Linked DNA regions of Homo sapiens: region 2 is linked to region 1. Evidence: promoter capture Hi-C in 16 types of primary human blood cells and fetal thymus (Javierre and others, 2016). All regions are on one chromosome and are shown on one strand. The core of a region is centred on a gene start or on the middle of the fragment in contact, and the rest is flanking DNA. Distances in the headings are between cores, read along the strand shown.

Region 1 (6,940 bases), core at 1,774-4,273:
TTTATATGATTTATAATAGATGACTCATTACTTATAATATTACTTGTTAATCATAAAATTACTTATAATAATAGCTGACATGTTTTAAGAACTCCTGTGTCTCAGGCATTGTTCTAAGCACTTCACATTTATCTCATTTTATCCTCACAGAAATCTTATGCATTTTACATTTTTTTACTTTTCATTTTTCAGACTTTCAAAAATATTGTAAAAATAGTCAGAGTTCCAGTATATCCTTCATCCAGCTTTTTCAAATAACCTTAACTCTAAAGCAATTATCAAAATCAGTCACCTAGCATTGATACAAAAAATTTTAAAATATAGAAATATGGGGCCGGGCACGGTGGCTCACGCCTTTAATCCCAGTACTTTGGGAGGCCAAGGAGGGTAGATCACGAGGTGAGGAGATCGAGACCATCCTGGCTAACACGATGAAACCCCGTCTCTACTAAAAATACAAAAATTAGCCAGGCGTGGTGGCAGGTACCTGTAATCCCAGCTACTCGGGAGGCTGAAGCAGGAGAATCTCTTGAACTCAGGAGGTGGGGGTTGCAGTGAGCCCAGATCGAGCCACTGCACTCCAGCCTTGGCGACAGAGTGAGACTCTGTCTCCAAAAAAAAAAAAAAGAAATATTAAAATTTTGCTAATCATCCCAGTCATGTCTTTTTTCTGCTCCAGAGTCCAACCCAGGATCCCACACTGAATAACACTGTCACATTTCCTAGGCCTCCTCCAACCTGGGGGAGTTTCCCACTCTTTCCCTCTCTCAGGACCTTGATGCTTTTGAGGAGGTCTGGTCAGTTGTTTTGTAGAATGCCCCTCAATTTGGGTTTGTCTCATGTTTCCTTGGGATGTTTCAGGTTATGCATTTTGGGCAAGATTAGCACAGAAGCGATGTGTCTTTCTCAGGACATCCCAGCCGGAGCCCCAGGATGTCTATATCTCTCATTACCGATGAGGTTCACTTTAAGCGCTTGGTTCAGGTGGTGTCTGCCAGGTTTCTCTACTGTGAAGTTACTATTCATCTCATTGTAATTAATAAGTATCTTGTGGACAGGTACTTTGGAAATATGCAAATAGCCAGTTTGTTCTTAGCATACTTTTACCAATTAATTTCTAGAATCCAGAGATAATTGTAGCCGATAAACAATTCTTACTGTGGTGTTAGCCAGTGATTTTCTGCTTCCATCATTGCTTCTACACTGATTAACTGGAACGCTGCTGTAAGAAAGAGCTAGTTCTTCTTTCTCATTTATTTATGTATTCACTTATTTATATATATATCAGCATGGACTCTCAAGTATTTATCGGTTGGACTACATTACTATTATTATTGATTATGTTGCTATATTGTCCCCAAATTGGCCATTGGGAGCTTCTTCTAGTTGGCATTTGTGATACTTTCCACACATCCCCATCATTTTTCAAGTTGTGCCTTACTCTCAGGCCCCGCAAGATGCTCCAGTCTCCTCTTGTGGTTTCCTGCCCCAGCCCTGGAATCAGCCATTTCTCCAGGGAACCCTGGTTCCTTTCATGGGAGAATGATGTTTACAGACCATGGGCGCCCATATGCCCATTGCTAGTAGGTGCCGGTGCTTCTATGCCCTCTAGTGGTCAGAGCTGGGAAATAACACACCCACACTAGTGTACTGTTACCCACATTTCACAAATTAGGTAAATGAGGCACAGAAAAGTTAGGCAACTTGACCAACATCACAGAGAAAATAGGTAGTGGAACTGGGAAATGAAAATAATGACAGATGCACCACAAGTTCTAACAAGCAAAAGTAGCTTTTTCACACATCCACATCAGCAGAAAGCCACAAGCCCAATATTCCGGCGTAGACACTCTTTGAAAACCAGAATTCCACAGCAATAACCACGATGACAACCACCATGTACTCAACACCCGCCTGGGCACGGGGCTCCCACAGCAGCTCACTTATTCCCAACAACTCTGCAAGGAGGATTTTACCATCCTCCTTTTACAAATCAGGGAATCAAGGATCATAGAAGCCACGTGACTTGTCCAAGTCAACATAGTTAAGTGACAGAACCATTAGCTGTCCCCAGGTACATCTGGACATAAAGTTCATGTTTATGCCACTGTGTCAGCATTTCCAAAAACTGATTTTAGGCGAAACGTAAGTAAGCTTTTTAAAAACTTTAATACTTATGCGTTTATTTTAATATACATTGAGAAAACATTTAAGCACACATCAAATCTGTAATTTCATGGACAATATTGCATAAGACAAGGATGTTTTGTCTCCAACTCCTGGCCTCAAGCCATCCTCCCACCATAGCCTCTCGAGTAGCTGGGATCACAGATCTGAGCCACCGATCCCTGCTAGGACAGGATGTTTTGTAAACTAAATTTATTTAGAAAAAAGGATGAAATATATAATAATAAAGGTGGTACAAGCTAGAGAGAAAATCATAAAGTCAGCCTAGAAATGTCTGGTGTCTGGATGACATAAAGCTACAGCACTGTGAAGCCTCATTCTCAGTTACTCCCAGGAAATTAGAGTCACATAATGCTGCAGAAAGAACAGCTCAGAATCTTAGATCCGGGCTTTAGCCCTAGATATATCCATTTGTAGGACCCCAGACATCTCTGTGACCTCCTTGCTGGGAGTAAATCCAACCTTCCCAGACATGTGAGAACAGTAAGAAGACCCTGCACACACAAAGGAGTTTCTCCGTCACAGAGAAAATAACACCAGGTTCAGGGACCCCAGGGACTCTGCATGGTGCTGACAGACCCAAGGCCAAGGCAGAGCAGAGGTCCACGCTGGGGAGGGAGGGTCATCCTGTTATGAAACAGGGATCCAAGTAAGCCTTGCTTCTCAGAGCCTGGTCTGGGGAACTCAAATGTAGACAGAAGGGAGAAAGGAAGAAGAGAAAATGAGGCAAAACTGAGAGGGGAGGGGACAGAGAGGTGACCTGGGCAGAGCTTCACCCATGACCCTGGAAAGTGCTCCTGCCCTGGGAGGAGGCTCAGCATGGAAAGAGGAAGGACAGCAGAGCCTAAGTCACAGTAGCCCTGACTACAGCATTCCTGGAGCCCAGGCTCTTTTCCACAGAGGAGGAAAGAGCAGGCAGCAGAGACCATGGGGCCCCCCTCAGCCTCTCCCCACAGAGAATGCATCCCCTGGCAGGGGCTTCTGCTCACAGGTGAGTGGAGGATTCCTGGGAGTGGGCAAGAGGAGGGATCACAGAGAATGGCTGGGGTCTCCTGGGGAGGATGGGGCTCTGATAGGGGACAGAAGGCTTCTGCTGAAGCCTCAGGGGAGAGAACATCAGAGAGGGACACGGGTCACAACAAGACAATCACATTGAACTGGGATTGATAAGAGGGAGGAAAATCCATTGATCATGTTTTCCAAGTTAATCATTACTGGCCACTACAATTAGAAAATGATAAGAATAAGAATTACATCAGGGTGATACTTTAAATAAAAATATAACCAGGGCACTAAAACCTGTCTTTGACCACCAACCACAAGTTGCAAAATAACCACCACTCCTTAACTCATCCACCAGTATTTGCAATCAAATTTTAGGCACTGGCGTACAACAAATATCAGACAAGTCTCTGTGTTCAAAGAGCTTACACTCTTGCAGAGATGAAGATAGACACCCAAAGAGATCTAGAATGTGAGTTCAGGTGTTGACAAGAGCCCTGGAGGGAACAGAGCAGAAAAAGGTCAGAAAGGGAAGACCCAGGGTCTCTAGAGGAGGTGTCAGGGGAGGGATCTCCCAAGGATGCCCTGATGTGAGCAGGATCTGAGGGCAGTGGGGAGGGAGCCATGCAGACCCCTGGGGAAGGGGATTCCACACAGGAAAATGCCAAGGTTAGAGGTGCTGAAGAAAGAAAGGTCACGTTACTGACCTTGACCAAGTGGGACACACATACACTCTCCAAGGCTGAAGGGTGAAGAGACTCTCTCAGGACCCAGGGCCCCATCTTTCCATCCCAATACATGGGTCCCAATATTGACTGATGCTTTCTCCCTCCTAGCCTCACTTCTAAACTTCTGGAACCCGCCCACCACTGCCAAGCTCACTATTGAATCCATGCCGCTCAGTGTCGCAGAGGGGAAGGAGGTGCTTCTACTTGTCCACAATCTGCCCCAGCATCTTTTTGGCTACAGCTGGTACAAAGGGGAAAGAGTGGATGGCAACAGTCTAATTGTAGGATATGTAATAGGAACTCAACAAGCTACCCCAGGGGCCGCATACAGCGGTCGAGAGACAATATACACCAATGCATCCCTGCTGATCCAGAATGTCACCCAGAATGACATAGGATTCTACACCCTACAAGTCATAAAGTCAGATCTTGTGAATGAAGAAGCAACTGGACAGTTCCATGTATACCGTGAGTATTTCCACATGACCTCTGGGTGTTGGGGGTCAGTTCTACTTCCCACATATGGGATTGTCAGGCCTGGGCTGTGCCTGTGGCCCTCTCTGCATTACATTCTGTATCAGGGTTTGGACATTTAGTGCAGGACACACACGGGGGAGACAAACTTCCACAGATCAGAATTCCTTTCCTGCATCCAGACCCTGCAGACACTCGCTGCAGAGGAAGGACAGTCTGATGGGGGGACTCAGCAGGGCAAGGTCAGTGTCAGAAAAGAACCCCATGGTCTCCCCATGGACCTGACCCTAAGAAAGACCCTGGAGAACTGGATCAGGGCCTGGCCTGAGGGGTCCCCCTAGGATTCTCAGAGAGAAGCTCAACTCTTCCCAGAACTGAGCCCCTGTGCAAATCCCTGTCCCAGATTCCTGACTCCAGGTGACCCTGGGGACCCTAGGGATCCTGTGCCAGGGCTGAGTGAGGCCTCCTGGGCAGGGCTGACTGGGAGCAAGAATTTACCAGCTGTCTGAGGGTCGTGGCTCCTGGAGTTGGTCACCAGCCAGGGTCCAGCCCCAAGAACCTCTCCTGGGCAAGGACAGGGCCTCATCCTTTACCTGAGACTCAGCATGGAGTGAACAGATGGACAAGATTACTAGGGCATGAGCCCACTGCCCAGGGGAACTTAGATGACTCCATGGGAAGTTCAGTATCCCCAGGGGGAGGAAAAAGAAGAGAGAAGATGCTCCCAGCAGCTCCTTTTCCACAAGGGATCAGACTCAGGGACCTCTCTTTTGGAGGCAAATAAGCATAGATGCTGTTCCTTTGGGCAGCTCCTCTATACACAGCTGAGGTCAAGTAATTGTAAATATTTTGAGATTAATTCACAAACAACGTCACAGCCAAATAGCACTTATCCTACTTATTGAAAAAAAAAATTGAGGAACAGGGAGACAGTCACCGACTAGGGTCACACAAGTCAAAGGTGTCAGATTAGAGTCACACGAGGTCTCTCTGCAGCCACAGCTGCCTCTTCTCCACCAGGGGACGGCTGGCGTTATTATTAGACATCTGCAGGCCTGAGACCAGTCCTAAGTTCTCTTTCCTTTTTCTTGGGCATCCACATCTCAGAGGGGGAGATTTTGGTCTGGAGAGTAAGGGGCAAATGGAAAATTAATCAATTTTTCCTGATATAGTTTGGATGTTTATCCTCTCCAAATCTCATGTTGAAATGTGATCCCCAACATTGGAGGTGAGGCCTGGTGGGAGGCGATTGGATCATGGGGGGCTGTTTCTCATGAGTGGCTCAGCACCATCCCCTTGGTGACAAGTCAGTTCTCACTTTGAGTGCACAGGAGATCTGGTTCTTTAAAAGTGTGTGGCGCCTCCACACTCTCTCTTGCTCCTGCTTTTGCCACATGACACCACCTGCTCCCCCTTCTCCTTCCACCATGATTGTAAGCTTGCTGGGTCTCACCAGAAGCCGAGCAGACGCTGGTGCCATGCCTGTATAGCCTGCAGATCCCTGCATCAATTAAATCTCTTTTCTTTATAAATTACCCAGCCTCAGACATTTCCTTATAGTAACAAAAAATAGCCTAACACATTAGCCTAACCTAGAACTAAATCCCTTGTGTCAACAGAGTCAGTGCCAGGAATGTCCGGGCCTCCCTCTCAGATGCGCACCACTGCCCTCACTCGACCTGAAATCCTGTGTTTCCTGATGTGTCAGTGACACTCCCACAGGAGGATAAAACACTCCCCACTCACACCCTGCACCAGCGCAGGGCCCAGTGAGAGACACACACTCAGTAGTTCTCTGACGAAGGAGGGAAGGAATGAATGATGAATAATTCTTAAACTCTTCAGAGACCGGATCTTGGATGCAGAATCCTATAAGGTTCTGGCCACACCTGTTTCCTGTCCCTCCAGGGGCCGGGATCCTTGTTGCATTCCTCTAACCCCTGCCCCTAAAGCTACCCCAAGAACCGCATCTCATGGGACTCTGGCACAGCTCACCTGTGGGAAGGTTTTCAGGTCTCCCTGGTCCTGGTTTGTGGGCGGCAGGTCACCCAGGCGCCGAGGCAAGAGACCAAGGACACGAGCTGTTCCAGTATAATAAAATATAAAACAAGAAAAGTTATACCAGATATAGATCTTAGATATGATTATATGTGAATATCATTAATCATTAGTTGGTAGCAATTACTCTTTATTCCAGTATTATAATAATCCTCGCTCTATAATCACAACCTAGGAAAAGCCAGGCCATACAGAGATAGGAGCTGGGGAGACATAGTGAGAAGTGACCAGAAGACAAGAGTGCGAGCCTTCTGTTATGCCCAGACAGGGCCACCAGAAGGGCTCCTTGGTCTAGCGGTGACACTAGCGCCTGGGAAGACGCCCGTTGCCAGGCAGACCGAGGTCTAGCGGTAGCGTAAGTGTCAAGGGAAAACACCCGCTACTTGGCAGACCGGGAAAGGGAGTCTCCCTTTCCCCGGGAGAGTTTAGAGAAGACTTTGCTCCTCCACCTCTTGTGGAGGGCCAGACACCAGTCAGGTCCACTCGCAGTT
Region 2 (6,940 bases), core at 1,532-4,031, 1.6 Mb before region 1:
TTTTTTTTTTTTTTTTTTTTTGGAGACAGAGTCTTGCTCTGTTGCCCAGGCTGGAGTGCAGTGGCACCATCTCAGCTCACTGCAACCTCCGCCTCCTGGGTTCAAGTGATTCTTCTGCCTCAGCCTCATGAGTAGCTGGGACTACAGGCTCCCGCCACCACACCCAGATAATTTTTGTATTTTTGGTAGAGACAGGGTTTCACCATGTCGACCAGGCTGCTCTCAAACTCCTGACCTCAAGTGATCCACCCATCTCGGCCTCCCAAAATGCTGGGATTACAGGCGTGAGCCACTGCGCCTGGCCTAGACTGTTTCTTTCCCTGGCCCAGGCCCTGATGCTGGGTCATCCCAGTGGAACATTCCCCCCGACCCCACACACCCTCCCTGGGCTTCTCTGGGTTTCTAAGGTCCAAGGGATGAGGCCCTCCCTGGTCCCCCCAAGAACACCACACAAGTTATGATCACCAGTGACAAGTGTTTTACCAACAAACACATGAGTCGGGGGAAGTTACATGGTGAGGTGGGAGGGCGAGGGATAGAGAGGTCCCCCTGGATTGGCCTCAGCCAATTACATCCCGAGTCTGGGACCCAGCCCCACTGTCTTCCCGCTGGAGGCTGCAACGATTCATCTTCAGCTGAGTCAGCTGGATGTAGCGGAGCACATTGGTGTCTGCAGGGGAGGTGGGCAGGGCATCATCTGGGTGTCCCGGGGCAGCAGGTGACTTCCACACCTCCCTGGCTCACACCCCATTCTCCGAAGTATCCAGCAGCTCGCTCACACAGCCAGTAGAGCCAGAGCCCTTCCCCAAAGCCCCAGTCACAGTCGGCAGTCCCCAGTCACAGCGGAGCCATCGCACACCTCTGTGCGCCTGTATTTGCGGCACCCTCTGCCAGGAATGCCTCTTCGCAGAGGCTCCCGTCACACTTCTCATCCTCCAGCGACATCTGCAAGAAGTCTGTTCTCTCCGAGCCACTTAACAGGAAAACTAATCTCGTCTCGGCTCCCACAACCCTGCACCTGTTGTAATCCCTCTTCCTTCTTCATTGGCTCTTAATACAAAACTGAGTGTTGTGTCTGCCCTCCTGCACTCATGTGTGTAAGTGCACACATGCACGCACACACACACACACCCCAATTTCCTGGCATCGTCCACCCGAGTGGATGAGTGGATGGTGCAGGAAGTGAATGAATAGGTGTGCGTGAATGGGTGAGTGGAGGAATGAGTGTGTGCGGTAGGCAGGGGTGGGACGGGGTAATGGAGATGACAGTGGGTGGATAGGGAAGTGACTGAGCAGGTGAATAGGAGATATCAGATGTGGCAATGACGGTAGATGAGAAATGGCCGGGGAGATGTCAGAGGAGCGATAGGTGGACGGATGTTTGAATGGCGGGTGAAGGGCGGGGTGGATGAATGGATGAGTGGGCGTGTAGGGAGTAGGTGGGTGGCGCAGCCCTACCTAGAAGCAGCTCCGCGGGAGGAGGGCTCTGCTATTCTGCCCTGATCTTCCTGCCTGTTCCCTCCGCTGCAGCCCCTTTCCCCGCCCTGGGCCCAGCCCTCACCTCTGCCCCGCCCCGCCACTCACCTGTGGGTTCCCGGCTGCGGGCCTCCTGCAGGTAGCGCAGCGCGCGTGCGTAGTCGCCCAGGTGGTAGAAGGCAATGCCGGCACGGTAGGTGGCCTTGAAGTTGCCCTGCTGCTTCTCCAGTACCTTGAGACAGTACTCGCGCACGCGCTCGTAGTTTACCAGCTCCGACTGCAGCAGGCAAGCTGCGAGGGCCCCGCGGCCGGCACTCTCAGAGCCTGCTGGCACCCCCAGAACCCACCTGACTGCGAGGAGCCGAGGCTCCAGGCGGCAGGGAACCAGGCCTAAGGGATTGCTCCGGCAACCAGGGGCGCCAATCCGCTCGCCTATCGAAACAGGCGCAACTGCGCCGCTGCTAGGGGGCGCCAAAACACGGACAGGCGCCACTGGGCGATCCACCCAGAGCTGTCGGTGGGCAAGAGCACTAAGGCCCCGCGCGGGGGCGAGGGCCGGGACCTCGAGAGCCTGGCTCAGGGCAGACTTCCTCACCTTGGGTCCACGTGCGGCCAGGGGGTGGAAAGAATGACTCAGGGGAAGCGAGGCCCTGAATACCCGACCCAAAGACCATTTCCTGCATCCCAGCTCCCTCCAGCCACAGACCCCTGTCATCCCCTACCCCTAATCCCTTTCCTTGATCAAGCTCTGAAGGCTCCCCCAGAAGCCCACAGCCCTGGACCCTTCAGCCCCAGGGCCCCTGGCCCCCAAGTCGCCAAGCTCTCCCGATTGCCCCCTCCCCTCGTGCCCCATCCCCCCACCCCCCGACGGCGTACCCGTGAGGGAGTCGTAACACTCCACCTCCGTGCTCTCCACCAGGCGCCGCTGCTCCTCGCTGAGGCGCGCCGGCCCGGGGCTGCTGGTGGGCCCGGGGGCGGGGGCGGGCAGGCCGCTAGGGCGGGCCCCCTGCGCCGCCTTCAGCTGCAGCAGCGCTCGGTGGTACTTGCCGATGGCCTCCCGGAACTTCTTCTCTCGATAGCAGCGCTGGCCCTCTGCCTTGAACGCCACGGCGGCACGCAGGCTGCTGTCGAGCGCCGCGCCCAGGCTCCCCGACGGCTCTGGGGTAGGACCGGGACGAGCCGAGCCATGGCGGGAGCCCGAGCCTGGGCCCGAGCCCGGTGGGGAGAGGGCGGGAGGCGGGCGCGGCGGAGGCTCCGGGGCAGCGCTGAGCATCAGCACCGGGGACAGCGCGCCGCGCTGCATTGTGGGAAACTCCTGCCGCCGCCGCTGCAGCTACCGCATCGCCCCCCGCGGGGCTGGTCCCCACCCTTTCTCCGCCCCCTCACCTCCGGCAGCCGACTCCGGCTGCCCCCTATGGGTCTAGGGAAACCCCTCGAGACTTCCCCCATGCTCACTCTCAAATTAACCAAGTCCTAGTTCTCCAGCCCGCCCCCCGAATTGTTCCCATTCCCCTTACCCTCCCCAACCTCCTGCCTGCTCTCCTCCCCGGTGCCCAAAGCTCCCGAAGATTTCTAGAAGGAAAGGACGAGCCTGGGGGAAAGAGCAGGAAGACATCAGCCTCACGGAAAGCTGGCTCTCAGCCCACTGGCCATTTGGCATATCGAATGAGAACACAGGATTTGGACCCAAGCTTCCCAAATTCAAATCCCTGCTTACTTTCTCACTAGTGGTATGACTTAGACAGCTCGCTTAAACTACCTGGAACTCTGTATCCTCATCAGTAACATGGCACAATAATATCACCTTTAGGGCCAGTCGAGGTGGCTCACGCCTGTAATCCCAGCACTTTGGGAGGTCGAGGTGGATGGATCGCTTGAGGTCAGAAGTTTGAGACCAGCCTGGCCAATATGGCAAAACTCCGTCTCTACTAATATACAATATATACAAAATTTTTGTATATATACACAAAAATTAGCCTGGTGTGGTGGCGTGCACCTGTAGTCCCAGCTACTCGGGAGACTGAGGCAGGAGAATCACTTGAACCTGGGAGGCAGAGGTTGCAGTGAGCCGAGATTGTGCCACTGCACTCCAGCCTGGGTGACAGAGGGAGATGCCGTCTCAAAAAAGGAAAGGAAAGGAAAGGAAAGGAAAGGAAAGGAAAGGAAAGGAAAGGAAAGGAAAGGAAAGGAAAGGGGAAAGGGGAAAGAGGAAAGAGAAAAAAGGAAAGGAAAGGAATTAAAAATAATACCACCTTTGGGATTCATCTGTTAATTTATGAAACAAATATTCACTGACATCCTTTCTGTGCCCAGCTCTGTGCTGGATGATGCTGGGACATAGCAGACACTGCGTGAGCTTCAGACCCTACTCTCACTGGGCCCCAGTTCAGTGGGAAGACAGACCAGTGACCAGACAGTGACAGCCCTGAGCAGGCTAGCCTGGGAAGCACAGGCAGAGGGGTCGGGGCCGAGGTGGAAGAGGCACAGGCAGAGGGGTCGGGGCTGGGATGTGGGAGGTACCTGCCCTGGGCTGAGGTGGTGATAAAGTCTTCCTGGAGGAGGGAATAACTCTAAAAACAAGAGAGATCTCCTTCTTGCCCTCATCCAGCTCGGCTGTCTATGGGGGAAAACAAGTGAGAGGGCAAACAAGTCCCCAGGAAAGGAAGCATGCAGGAGGCTTTCAAGAAAAAAATCGAGGATGAATGAGTCAACTGCCCTTCAGTCCTCCTTTGCCGCCTCCTTAGCTGTGGGACCTGGGCCAAGTTCCTCGATCCTCCTCCTTCGGCTTCGTCTGTGCGACATGAGGATAGAAGGCAAGTTAACCTCAGAGCGGTTGCAGAGACTGAATTATCTTATGCAGGTAAGGCACTTAGCACAGGGCTTCATACATTAATGGGCAATTAACAACTGGTGTTTCTTATCGTCCATTAGACTCTGAGTCATGTGATCATGAGTGCCTGGCTCTGAGTCAGCATCCATATATAGTTGTTGAATGAATGAGTGTGTGAGTGAATGGCATTATGCATTACTACTCCTCCCCCTCCTCTGAGACTCTAGCTTGGGTCTCAGCCCCAGGCCTCCCCACTCTCCCCAACTCCACCCCCACAGCACATCCTCTAGCTGGAGGTCCCATGGCAGGTCACATGTGACAGACAGAAACCAGAACTCAGCACCTTCCATCTCAACCAGAGCATCTGCCTCTATCTCTTATTGTACTTTGCTGTAAAACGCTTTTGCTGAGTGAGTTTCTCCCTTATCCCTGGGGTCCAGCCTTGAACACCTCAGGGGTGCAAACATTTTCCTCTCTGCATCTCCAAACCCAGGCTCAGTTAGGAGTGTAAAACTCATGAATTTGAGTTCTTGAGCAGTGCACACACCTTTCCCTACCTCCGGTGTGTCTGTTTTGTAATGAAAAACACAGAGATCTGGCTGGGCGCAGTGACTCACACCTGTAATCCCAGGACTTTGGAAGGCCGGGGCAAGTGGATCACCTGAATTCAGGAGTTCGAGACCAGCCTGGGCAACATGGCAAAACCTTGTCTCTACCAAAAATACAAAAAATTAGCCAGGGGTGGTGGCGTGCACCACTTGGAAGGCTGAGGCGGGAGGATTGCTTGAACCCAAGAGGTGGAAGTTGCAGTGAGCTGAGATCACACCACTGCACTCCAACCTGAATGATGACAGAGTGAGACCCTGTCTCAAAAAAAAAAATAAAAAAAAAAGGAGATCCGTTGATTCATAACCATGTTTTCTGACGAAGTAAATGCCTAGGTACCCAGGCACAGTAGCACAGGACAACTGTACCTAAAATCACAGTCCTGCTGGGATGCAATGCTAACACTTTTACAACACCTCCTAGGTGTCAGACATTGTCATAAAGAGCTTTCCCTTTTATTTATTTTTTATTATTTATTTTGAGATGGAGTCTTGCACTGTCGCCGGGGCTGGAGTGCAATGACGTGACCTCGGCTCACGGCAACATCCACCTTCCGGGTTCAAGCGATTTTCTTGCATCAGCCTCCTGAGTAGCTCGGATTATAGAAGCCCGCCACCACACCCAGCTAATTTGTTGCATTTTTAGTAGAGACGGGGTTTCACTATGTTGACCAGGCCGGTCCCAAACTCCTGACCTCGTGATCCGCCCGCCTCGGTCTCCCAGAGTGCTGGGATTATAGACTTGAGCCATCGCACCTGGCTGCTTTACGTATATTTTAACTCACATCCTCACCACAGTGTCAGGAGGTTGGTACCATAATTATCCCCACTGACACCTGGGCACTTCCCAGGTTAAGTATATCAGACCCCATTGATAAAACTCTTACTATCCAGGACTTACTACTACAAACTGATGACCTTCGCAGAGCATCTTCCAGGCTTGGGAGAACCTATCTTCATAGCCCAGTATATGTGATGTGTTGGGCTTGTACAACCATTAAGAAATATTGAATTAGGCCGGGTACGGTGGCTCAAGCCTGTAATCCCAGCACTTTGGGAGGCCGAGGCGGGAGGATCACCTGAGGTTAGGAGTTCGAGACCAGCCTGGCCAACATGGTGAAACATGTCTCTACTAAAAATACAAAAATTAGCCGGGCGTGGTGGCAGGAGCCTGTAATCCCAGCTATTTGGGAAGCTGAGGCAAGAGAATCATTTGAACCCGGGAGGCGGAGTTTGCAGTGAGCCGAGACCGCGCCATTGCACTCCAGCAGCCTGGGCAACAAGAACGAAACTCCGTCTAAAACAACAACAAAAACAGAAAGACTGAATTAGTTGACATCTAAACGCAGATATGGAATTGCAGAATCTCAGGTTTACTTGAATAAGATCTGAAAATCCGGCAACATCGAGGTAGCATTTCTTCTGACCGGGATGGGCATTCTCAACTCCCCCACAGTCCCCATCTCTTGTGATTTTTTGCCAGTCCTTAAGGGATCCCAGTTTTATCCCGCTGAATGACTCTTGGGGAAGCCCGCCATTGCCCCCTGGTGGAGGAGTTCAGAATTTGCATTTTATCTCCCAGCAACCATTAAAGGAAGTGGTGAGCACATCCAATCAGAGGGATGCGAGGCCTAGAAAGCGACCAATCAAAAGCGAGAGGGGACCGGAATTCGACCAATGAGGGCAGAGAGCGCTCAGAATAAAATAAATTCTTTTATTGAGATGAGAGACGGACACACACTGGGAGGGTTTTGTTTTTTGTTGTTGATTTTTTTGTGACTGAGTCCCAGTACTCAGGGAGGCTCAGACTGGAGGCGGCGGAGCAGGCAGGCGGCGGCAAGGCTGGTCCCCTGGCGCTGGGGCCGCGCATACTTGAGGAAGACTGCGGCGCGACCCGGCGCGGGACCTCGGAGCGCAGCGCGGGCCATGCACGGCTCGAGGGTGCCCAGTTCCTCGGGGCTGCAGCAGGGAGATGGAGAAACTGAGGCAGGGCAAGTGGTTGGAGATGACCCATCCTTGGAACTGGAGA

What was found. Contacts are between HindIII fragments. The CHiCAGO score rates a contact against its expected background, and 5 or more counts as called.
Region 2: the fragment with the promoter of TTC9B here is called in contact with the fragment with the promoter of CEACAM3 in region 1 in 1 of 17 cell types (total B cells); the score reaches 5.8 in total B cells.

The regions. Positions count from the first base shown.
Region 1 is chr19:41,793,564-41,800,503 of GRCh38, forward strand. It overlaps CEACAM3 (CEA cell adhesion molecule 3), which reads left to right and starts at 3,024. Exons shown (of 7, transcript NM_001815.5): 1 at 3,024-3,178; 2 at 4,026-4,385. The coding sequence starts at 3,115. The HindIII fragment of the contact is 3,675 bases long and covers 2,153-5,827 here.
Region 2 is chr19:40,215,603-40,222,542 of GRCh38, forward strand. It overlaps TTC9B (tetratricopeptide repeat domain 9B), which reads right to left and starts at 2,782. Exons shown (of 3, transcript NM_152479.6): 1 at 2,353-2,782; 2 at 1,585-1,767; 3 at 456-670. The coding sequence starts at 2,779. The coding sequence ends at 561. CCNP (cyclin P) reads right to left here. Exons shown (of 5, transcript NM_024877.4): 5 at 6,606-6,940. RefSeq lists enhancers at 1,650-2,240, 3,819-5,018. The HindIII fragment of the contact is 9,686 bases long and covers 1-3,165 here.